3 separate regions of the Homo sapiens genome follow, and all the other regions are linked to region 1. The links are contacts of gene promoters, found by promoter capture Hi-C in blood cells and fetal thymus (Javierre and others, 2016). All regions are on one chromosome and are shown on one strand. Each heading gives the region's core, a stretch centred on a gene start or on the middle of the fragment in contact. The rest is flanking DNA. Distances are from core to core; before and after follow the strand shown. Region 1 holds the start of ACSM3 (acyl-CoA synthetase medium chain family member 3). Region 2 overlaps DNAH3 (dynein axonemal heavy chain 3). Region 3 overlaps DNAH3 (dynein axonemal heavy chain 3).

What was found. Contacts are between HindIII fragments. The CHiCAGO score rates a contact against its expected background, and 5 or more counts as called.
Region 2: a fragment that was not itself captured here is called in contact with the fragment with the promoter of ACSM3 in region 1 in 1 of 17 cell types (endothelial precursors); the score reaches 5.1 in endothelial precursors.
Region 3: a contact is called between a fragment that was not itself captured here and the fragment with the promoter of ACSM3 in region 1, in 1 of 17 cell types (endothelial precursors). The highest score is 6.9, in endothelial precursors.

Annotation. Positions count from the first base shown.
Region 1 is chr16:20,762,507-20,765,668 of GRCh38, reverse strand. It overlaps ACSM3 (acyl-CoA synthetase medium chain family member 3), which reads right to left and starts at 1,655. Exons shown (of 14, transcript NM_005622.4): 1 at 1,544-1,655. RefSeq lists an enhancer at 1,389-1,518. The HindIII fragment of the contact is 1,761 bases long and covers 54-1,814 here.
Region 2 is chr16:21,059,071-21,062,703 of GRCh38, reverse strand. DNAH3 (dynein axonemal heavy chain 3) reads left to right here. Exons shown (of 62, transcript NM_001347886.2): 25 at 21-222; 26 at 2,348-2,440. Among named protein-coding and RNA genes, the nearest start is that of DNAH3, 90 kb to the left of the region's middle. The HindIII fragment of the contact is 2,675 bases long and covers 129-2,803 here.
Region 3 is chr16:21,131,608-21,135,173 of GRCh38, reverse strand. DNAH3 (dynein axonemal heavy chain 3) reads left to right here. Exons shown (of 62, transcript NM_001347886.2): 8 at 720-915. Among named protein-coding and RNA genes, the nearest start is that of DNAH3, 17 kb to the left of the region's middle. The HindIII fragment of the contact is 2,486 bases long and covers 103-2,588 here.

The DNA.
Region 1 (3,162 bases), core at 406-2,905:
TGCTGAAAATATAGCTGTGAACAAGACACGGCTGGTCTTGCTCCCATGAAGCTTATAGACTATTAAGGAAGACATTAAATAATTATGTAAATATTAATATGATTGGAGATAAATATATCATACTTAGCTTGCTGATTCTGAATAGAATCAGAGTTTAGTATGATTTGTTCCCTAGCTCCCATACAATACTCTACACCACATTCAGAATCCTTCAAACGTATGTTGAAAAGAAAATTGATCAGTCATTTGGAGCTTAAAATGAACCTAACCATTCTGTTCTACCAAAAAGCAAATATCGACATCCTCTTCATCAAAACCATAAGATTACCTTCTCCTCAACAAAGTTCTTTTCCTCCCTTTTCATCGATCTTAGCATTTTACAACTTCTATTTCCCAGGTTTATAAAATTATTTGTAGGTAAAATTGCTGAGATAACTTTCCCAGGGTGACTCCAGATTTTTATACTGAGCCACAGAAACATTGGTAAGGAAAACTCTTCTAAGAAAGACAGTACCACCCCTGGTCAGATAGGCTTCTGAAAGTATTTAAGGTCTCATCTGAAATGCAAGCTCTTTGTCCCTACAGCCAAGGGGGCTTTAGCCTCCCCACAGCTCCCTAAACATCCCTCCCTCTAAGTATCCAAGTAATAACAGTAGTTTAACATATACAGCCTCAACGCAAGGTAAATTCACTGCTGTTGTCTCCAAACCCAACCAGACCCTGCCTGAAGCCCCTCCTATACAGAACTTTTGCAGCTGCCCTTGACCACCTAAAGGAGAAAACTGGCTGCTCTTAGGTTTGCATCTGTGTTTCCCAAAGTTTCCTGGAAGTAATTTACATACTTTCTGGATGATGCAGAAGATGGATTCCCATCTGTCACTGAGCAAGGTGGGGAGCTAAGCAGACAGTACAATGAAAATCTCAGCCACTACCTGGTCTTTTTTTTGAGATGGAGTCTTGTTCTGTCACCCAGGCTGGAGTGCAGTGATGCAATCTCAGCTTACTGCAAACTCCACCTCCCAGGTTCAAGTGACTCTACTGCCTCAGGCTCCCAAGTAGCTGGGGTTACAGGCACCTGCCACCACACCTGGCTAATTTTTTATTTTCAGTAGAGATAGGGTTTCACCATGTTGGCCAAGCTGGTCTCGAACTCCTGGCCTCAAGTGATCTGCATCTGCCCACCATAGCCTCCTAAAGTGGTGGGATTACAGGCTTGAGCCACCGCATCTGGTTCAATTAAAATTAAAAAAAAAATTTATCAACTTAATACATGTACATAGTTTTTCAAAAAATCAAATAGCACCAAAAGGCTCAACATGAAAACTCAGCTGCTACATTTATAGCCTTTTGTGTGTGCATACTCCTCATCACTTAATAGATAGTATCACACAACTGAGAAATTCTGAGAGAAACTTTGGCTGCCCAAGACTTTAATGACAGCATTTTTGATTGTTGGTTTTGTTCATCTGTTTGTTATCTTTGCTCAAAAAACAGATGTGCCAGTTCAGGAAATCTTACACAGGAGGGGAGATGAGGTACTCACTAGTTAACAGATTCCAACACAGATGGAGATTATGGCAGACTTGTTTCTTAGAAGAGCAGCCCTGAACCTTGAGTTCTCACATCTGCTTTTTCCTCGTGGCAGTCTAAAGAAGAGGGAGGAGCAGTCTGACAATCCGGAGGAGCAAGACTGGCCCAAAACACTTTCCTTGATTGGTGGAGACATTCTGGAGGAGGAGCCAAGCTCTGGGCTAAAGTTTACAGGACTCCCAGCGGTTCCTCTTACAGGTAATGATTTACAGAAACAGCAAGCTTTTGAGGGGCGGAGAAAGCAAATTATTAACAAGAAGGAAAGTGTCCAAGGAGTTGCCGAAGTGGTTAGTTCTGTAAAGGGGCAGAGAGAGCACTTCTCAGAAGGAAGAACAGATGGAGGAAGCCATAGAGGAGTTTTGAAATTGAAAGGAAAGAAGTTGAGGGGCGGTTATGGGTTGGCCTAAATCTCATCAAGCCCATTGGTGCGTTTATCTGTCGAAGTGGCAGGACTAAACATAAACGCTATCAGGTTACTCCCCTGCTCAAATCTTTCAGTGCTTCTTTTTCCACTCCAGGTAAAATCCGAGTCCTTACATGAACTGCAAGGAGTTGTATGATCTGGCACAGGGTCCTCTGATCCACAGCCCATTCTCCTTCCTCTGCCTCACTCTGCACAGCCACCGGCCTCCTTGCTTTTTCTCAAACACACTTGCCTGTTTCAGCCTCAGGCTTTCTGAATTCACAGTTTCCACTGACTGGAACTCTTTCCTCAGATATCCCCCTGGCCAAATTCCTCATTTTCTGAGGTGTCTTATTAAATAACTCTTCCCTTACCTCATTTTCTAAAGTAGCACTCTTCATTTTTTCTCTTTTACCATTTTTTAACTTTTTACATCTCTTACTATCACCCTTGAGGGTAAGAACTCTTTTTGTTTGATGGTGTATCTATTGCCTGGAATAGCTACTGGCAAATTTTAGGCATTCAATAAATAGTTGATGGATATGTGAATAAATAAAGGACTCTTTCAATTACATGTGAGAGACCCAACTTTACTTAAAGAGGAATTTGTTGGTCACTTTTGAGTTCTAGGAGTCTTTTGTTGTTGATTCCTTGGGATTTTCTGTGTAATCACATTACCTGTAAATAAGTAAACAGATCTTACTTCTTTCTTTCAGATCTATATGCGTTTTATTTCCTTTTCTTGCCTTATTGCGCAGGCTAGAGTGTCTAGCTCTACGTTGAATAAGAGTGATGAGAGCAGACATCCTTGCCTTGCTTTTGATCTTAGAGGGAAAACATTCAGTCTTTCATGGTTAGGTACAATATTAGTAGTAGGTTTTGTGTAGATGCCCTTTATCAAGTTGAGGAAATTCTCCTCTATTTCTATTTTTTTCTGAGTGTTTTTATCATGAATAGGTGTTGAATTTTGGCAAGTGTTTTTTCTGCATCAGTTACTATAAGCATGTGGTGTTTTTCTTCTTTAGCCTGTTAATAAGATAGATTACACTGATCTTCTAATATTGAACCAGCCTTGCCTCCCTGGAATAAACCTTGCTTGGTCCTGTTGTATATTTCTTTTTCTGTATTGCTGAATTCTATAGTTATGTCTCTTGACAAATTTGAGAACT
Region 2 (3,633 bases), core at 217-2,716, 300 kb before region 1:
CTTTCTTTGCTTTGAAATAGATTCTTCTTCCTATCAAACGATGAGCTGCTGGAAATCTTGTCCGAGACAAAGGACCCTCTCCGAGTGCAGCCGCACTTGAAGAAGTGCTTTGAAGGAATTGCCAAGCTTGAGTTTACAGACAATCTGGAAATTGTGGGCATGATCAGCTCGGAAAAAGAAACTGTTCCATTCATACAGAAAATCTACCCAGCTAATGCCAAGGTAACTCCTCTTACCCATTTTTGGTTCTTTTCTCCATAACAGAGTAAATCAGAGAGCGTATTGGCTAAGCACTGGGACTAAGCACCAGACTGCCTGGGGTATGGAACACTTGGGTTCTACGATGTAACGACTGAAGATTTGGGGAAGTTACTCAATCTTTCTGAGTCTCAGTGTACCCATCTCTAAGATGGGGATTCCACTGCAATCCACATGACATATTAAATTTGTGGATTTTAACCCAACTCGATGTGGAGTCAATTGCAGGAATCAGATCCAAACAGCCGATGCTGTTTAGATTTCCATGTGCAGAGTTCAGTTGAAAGTGATTCAGTTAGACAGGTAGCTTCCTGGGGCATTCATTTTAAAGATCAATAAAACATCATAGAATCAATGAGAGCTATAATGCAACTTAACTCAGGTTTTCATACATATGTCCTTATATAATGAGTAAAGTATAAATTACTTCCATTTCTGCTCAGTGACAGCACCCTCAAGTGGAAATAGACAAGCAAGCTGAGCCTTGCTTTGTTGACTGTTTTTGCCACCCACGCGTATAAACTGCAGCAACCAGGAGTCACATTACCAATGCAGACACCAGCTAGCTTACAAGCACCTGAAGTCAATAGCTACAGTTACCTGAAATTCTAACACTGAATAATTTGGGGCATATTTGAATTTCCCTATGGAGTTTTGATCAAAATCCAAATGACCAGGTTGCATCCCATACCAATTAAATCAGGAAGTCTAGGGGTGGGAGTCAGTCATCAGTATTTTTTAAAAGATCTCCAAGTGATTTCAAGGAACAGCAAAGTTTGAGACCCACTGGAATAATGCATGAATCAGAGCTGTTCATTTAAAAGATGCAATTTATTTTATGAACTGACATAAATGTTTCATTTGCCTTCTGAGAAGTTGTCTGTTTCAGAAAATGACATGAAAGTAATGCGTATTAAAAATGGGCCGGGCGTGGTGGCTTGCACCTGTAATCCCAGCACTTTGGGAGGCCGAGGCGGGTGGATCACCTAAGGTCAGGAGTTTGAGACCAGCCTGGCCAACATGGCGAAACCCTGTCTCTACTAAAAAGCCAGGTGTAGTGGCACATGCTGTAATCCCAGCGACTTGGGAGGCTGAGGCAGGAGAATCGCTTGAACCCAGGAGGCGGAAGTTGCAATGAGCCGAGATCACACCATTGCACTCCAGCCTTGGGTGACAAGAGTGAAACTCCGTCTCAAAAAAAAAAAAAAAAAAAAGGCCTATCGCCCCTTTAGAAGGCATATGCTTCTGAGAATACAGAAAATAAGTGTCAAGCAGATAAAGAATATTGGAATATTGGCTGGGGCCAAGGCCAGGTGCCATGGCTCACACCTGTAATCCCAGCACTTTGGGAGGCTGAGGCAGGAGGATCTCTTGAGGCCAGGAAATCAAGACCAGCCTGGGCAACATAGAGAGACCACGGCTCTACAGAAAAATTTAAAAGTTAGCCGGGCATGGTGGCATGTGCCTGTAGTCCCAGTTACTCAGGAGGCTGAGTCAGGAGAGTCACTTGGGCCCAGGAGTTCAAGGCTGCAGTGAGCCAGGATCGTGCCACCGCACTCCAGTCTGGATGACAGAGCAAGGCCCTGTCTCTCTCTATAAAAAAAAAAAAAAAAAAAAGAAGAGACCAGGCGCAGTGGTTCACACCTGTAATCCCAGCACTTTGGAGGCCGAGGTGGGCAGATCACGAGGTCAGGAGGTCAAGACCATCCTGGCCAACATGGTGAAACCCCGTCTCTACTAAAAATACAAAATTCATCAGCCGCGGTGGTGGTGCACGCCTGTAATCCCAGCTACTCGGGAGGCTGAGGCAGGAGAATCGCTTGAACCAGGGAGTCGGAGGTTGCAGTGAGCCAAGATCATGACAGTGCACTCCAGCCTGGTGACAGAGCGAGACTCTGTATCAAAAAAAAAAAAAAAAAGAAAAAAAAAAAGAAAAAAAGAACGGGGAGACAGAGAATATTGACTTGAAAAGGTGCCAAGCCTTTGGCATCCCTCCAGCCGTGTCCAGAGAGAAAGCTGTGTTCTGCCCACTCTCCCTCCCTCTGGGCTTTGGTTGACTGCTGCACCCTCTCTCTGTCTTGCTCCATAGGGCATGGTGGAAAAGTGGCTCCAGCAGGTGGAGCAGATGATGCTGGCCAGTATGCGAGAAGTCATTGGACTTGGGATTGAAGCATATGTCAAGGTAAACAAGAACCGGGGTACACATGCCAGGACACTAGTGCACTAAAGAGAACATTGGGGAGAAGGTTCATGTGTCAGTAGTTTGGCTGGACCCTCTGCTTTCTACCAAAACCTGTCCCTCTGCACCTCTCTTTCCTTCACTTGTGAACCCTGGGGCAATGAACCTATTCCTGGTGAAATACTGGCAGTTAGAAGCAGGTGATGCAAGAGAAGAGGGTTAGCTGGAACCCTCTGGTTGCCACGGACCAGTCCTTTTTGTCAAATGGGATTAATGGCACGAAGTCTATTTAGAGTCCCTTCCAATTAATAATTCATTTACCTTACAGATGCCCTGAGTGGCATAACTCATTGTGTTCCCAAAGCTTAAAGGGAAATAGGTATGACGTAAGGCTTAAGACAAAAGAATCTATCAGAATAACTTGGTACCCAGCCTGTAGTCACATTCACGTTGAGCGACTCTAGCTCTCTTTCTTCTTTTTTTTTTTTTTTGAGATGGAGTCTCACTCTGTCTCCCAGGGCTGAAATGCAGTGGTACGATCTTGGCTCACTGCAACCTCCACCTCCTGGGTTCAAGCGATTCTCCTGCCTCAGCCTCCCAAGTAGCTAGGACTACAGGCAACCACCACCACACCTGGCTAATTTTTGTATTTTTCGTAGAGATGTGGTTTCACCATGTTGGCCAGGCTGGTCTCGAACTCCTGACCTCAAATGATCCACTTGCCTCGGTCTCCCAAAGTGCTGGGATTACAGGCATGAGCCACTGTGCCCGGCTGACTGACTCTAACTTTCTTACTTTCTTATTCCCAGCACCCACAGAACAAAGCAATACTCAACACCCTCACACTAAAGTCCTGGGGACTGACCCTGCTGTCCCTTGACACAGTATTTGCATTGTAAAATGAAAGACCAGTCCCTTTTCCTATGACATGCTCTGAATCAAAAATTAAAGAAAAGCAGTTACCAGTATGAAATTATTTCATCCAAATCAAATCTATCAAATTTTATCCTCAGATCAAACTTTTTCTGTAAAGAGCCAGATAGTAAATATTTTCAACTCTGCAGGCCACATTCCCAATGCAACTATTTTTTAAAATAAATTTTATTGCATATATTTAAGGTATACAACATAATGTTATAAGACACATATGTATAGTAAATGGGTACTGTAGCTTTGCCCTTGTGGCACAAAAGCAT
Region 3 (3,566 bases), core at 96-2,595, 370 kb before region 1:
CCAGGGCTCAACCCCAGATTCTAAGTGCTCCACACCGTGAAGTCACACTCCTCCTTTCTGTAAAATACCCTCAGAAAGAAAACAAACACCAAGAGTGAAGCTTCACCAGTTGAATTATACCCAGGGGATTACCCATGACCTTGCAAATGGACAGAGGCTCATTTATATTCTAAGAGTTGAAGCTAAGGCCAGGTGTGCTAGCTCACACCTATAATCGCAGCACTTTGGGAGGCCGAGGCGGGTGGATCACCTGAGGTCAGGATTTCAAGACCAACCTGGCCAACATGGCAAAACCCTGTATCTACTGAAAATACAAAAAATTAGGCAGGTGTGGTGGCAGCCACCTGTAATCCCAGCTACTCAGGAGGCTGAGGCAGGAGAATGGCTTGAACCTAGGAGGCGGAGGTGGAGGTTGCAGTGAGCTGAGATTGAACCATTGCAATCGAGCCTGGGCGACAGAGCGAGACTCCATCTCAAAAAATAAATAAATAAATAAATAAAAAGAGTTGACTCTAAGGCCAGGCATAGCAACTCATGCCTGTAATCCCAGCACTTTGGCAGGCTGAGGTGGGAGGATCACTTGAGCCCAGGAGTTTGAGACCAGCCTGGCCAACTTAGTGAGACCCCGTCTCTATATTAAAAACAAAACTAAATGAGTTGAAGCTAAGAGCACAACCCTTAGAGCTTAATAATGAGGTGTTCGCCCTTTCCGGTTGTAGTTGATTACATCCTCATGGACCCAATGGAGAGAAAACGGCTCTTTATTGAGAGCATCCCCCGCTTGTTTCCTCAAAGAGTGATCCGGGCCCCTGTGCCCTGGCACAGTGTCTACAGGAGCGCCAAGAAGTGGAACGAGGAGCATCTGCACACGGTGAACCCCATGATGCTCAGGCTGAAAGAACTGTGGTTTGCAGAGTAAGAAGTCCCTCCCTTTTTTTTTCATTCCCTTTCTTGACCACATCCACGTGTAAGCAAGCCTATTCTGCTGTGCACAGTGGGGGTAGCCCTGACAGCATAGAGAAATGAAAGAAAAAAAAATCTAGGCCAAATATGCATGTGAATTATAAGTGACACCTTTCCTTGCAGGCTTACGTGGCCCTCCTTTGTGTCCCCAGGGCACCCTGTGCCTGTCTCTAAGCACTGGAATATCCTGCTTAATTGCACAGACTTGGAGCCAGCCTGCTCAGGTCTAACTCCTAGCTCTGCTGCTTTACAGGCATATATGTGGTCGCATCACTTTTCTGTGCCTTGCTTCCTTTACCTCTAAATTTGCGATAATGTTAATAAGAGTTTCCACTTCATAGGATTGATAAGAGGAATAAATAACTTACTACATCCAAAGCACTTAGAACAGTATCTAATATAACTTAAGCACCAGTAATTGTTAATTTGGCATTACCTCCATTACAACATCACCCTCAGTTTTTGTTTTTGAGACAGAGTTTGGCTCTTGTTACCCAGGCTGGAGTGCAATGGCGCGATCTTGGCTCACTGCAGCCTCCGCCTCCCGGGTTCAAGCGATTCTCCTGTCTCAACCTCCCGAGTAGCTGGGATTACAGGCATGCGCCACCATGCCTGGCTAATTTTGCATCTTTAGTCAAGATGGGGTTTCTCCATGTTGGTCAGGCTGGTCTCGAACTCTCGATCTCAGGTGATCTGCCAGCCTCAGCCTCCCAAAGTGCTGGGATTAGAGACATGGGCCATCGCACCCAGCTCACCCTTGGTTATAATAGAACATTTACTTATTTGTCTCCCTTTAGCCTATGAAGTGTGTGCGGGCTTGGGTTTTATTCCTTTTTTTTTTTTTTTTTTGAGACGAATCTCACCCTGTCACCCAGGCTGGAGTGCAGTGGCATAATCTCGATTCACTGCAACCTCCTCCTCCCAAGCTGAAGCAATCCTCCCACCTCAGTCTCCCAAGTTAGCTGAGTAGTTGGGACCACAGACCCACACCACCACACCCAGCTAATTTTTTGTATTTTTTGATAGAGACGGAGTTTCACCATGTTGTCCAGACTGGTCTCAAACTCCTAAGCTCAAGCAATCCACCCACATCGGCACCCCAAAGTTCTGGGATTACAGGTGTAAGCCACCACGCCCGGACGGTCTTATTCCTTTATGTAACTCAGTGCCAGTACAGGGCTGGCAAGCAGTGATCTCTCAGGTATATTTATCAATAATTAAATTTGCGAAACTCCGTCTCAAAAAAAAAAAAATTGTAGGAGTCCAGATGAGACAGAAGCCACCTTTTTTCATTCTTTCATTTTAAAAAAAAGTGAGATATCCACATTCCATAAAATTCACCCTTTGAAAGTACACAATGCAAGTTTTTAATATATTCACAAGTTTGTTTAATCCTTACCACTGTCTAATTCAAGAGTATTATCATTACCCCAAAAAGAAACCCATTAGCAGTCACTCCGCATTCTCACCTTCCCCCATTTCCTCCCAACCACTAAGTGATTTTCTGTCTCTATGGATTTGCATATTCTGGACATTTTATAGAAATGGAATCATGCAATATATGATCTTTTGTGTCTGGTGTCTTTCAATGAACAATATTGTCAGTCTTCATCCACACTGAAGCTTGTATCAGTAGTGAGTGCTTCCTTTTTATGGCGGCATACTAATCCATTGGATGGCTATCCGACATTTGTTTTATCTATGCATCAATTGCAGTGAGCCTGGAGGTGGAAGACTCTGGTTTTTTTAGTGAGCCCTTCAAGAAGGTACACATCCTGGTGAGAGGATGAAGACACCGGAGTTCACTGAAAGGCCAGGCTAATGAAATGATGAGCTGCCCCCATCTGAGTTTTGTATTAGAAAAATTAGAGGCAGATATGCTTACTTAACTTTGATTGGCCGAACTTATTAGTAGCTCATGTATTTTGCTTTGGGAGGATCTCTAGCTTTGAACGTGTTCAGTCTTAAGGGAGCCCTGTGGCTTGGAGAACCTACTTGTTTTTCAAATCCTTAGTTTTGCTTGTATTTTAAAAAGGAATTGAGGGGGTGAAGTCAACGTAGGACAGAGCCCATCAGTGAAAAGAAATAGCTGTATTCTTTTCTTTGAACTGAATTCAATTTTCTAAAGCATTGGAAGTACCAGTCAGCAGTCAGGACATTGAGAAAAAAGAAGTAATTTTCTAACTAAGTGGAACCATATAAAGTAATAACTTATAGAATGGGATCTGAATTCTGGTTCTTGTTCTGTTACTAATTAATAGTATAATTTGAGAGAAATTAATCCCTCTGTGACTGTTTTCTTTTCTTTCTTTCTCTCTTCCTTTCTTTCTCTCCCCCTTTTTTTTTTTTTTTTTTTGAGATGGAGTTTCACTCTTGTTGCCCAGGCTGGAGTGCAATGGCGCGATCTTGGCTCACCGCAACCTCTGCCTCCCAGGTTCAAACATTTCTCCTGCCTCAGCCTCCCTAGTAGCTGGGATTACAGGCATGTGCCACCATGCCTGGCTAATTTTTTTTTGTATTTTTAGTAGAGACAGGGTTTCTCCATGTTGGTCAGGCTGGTCTCGAACTCCCGACCTCAGGTGATCCACCTGCCTCAGCCTCCC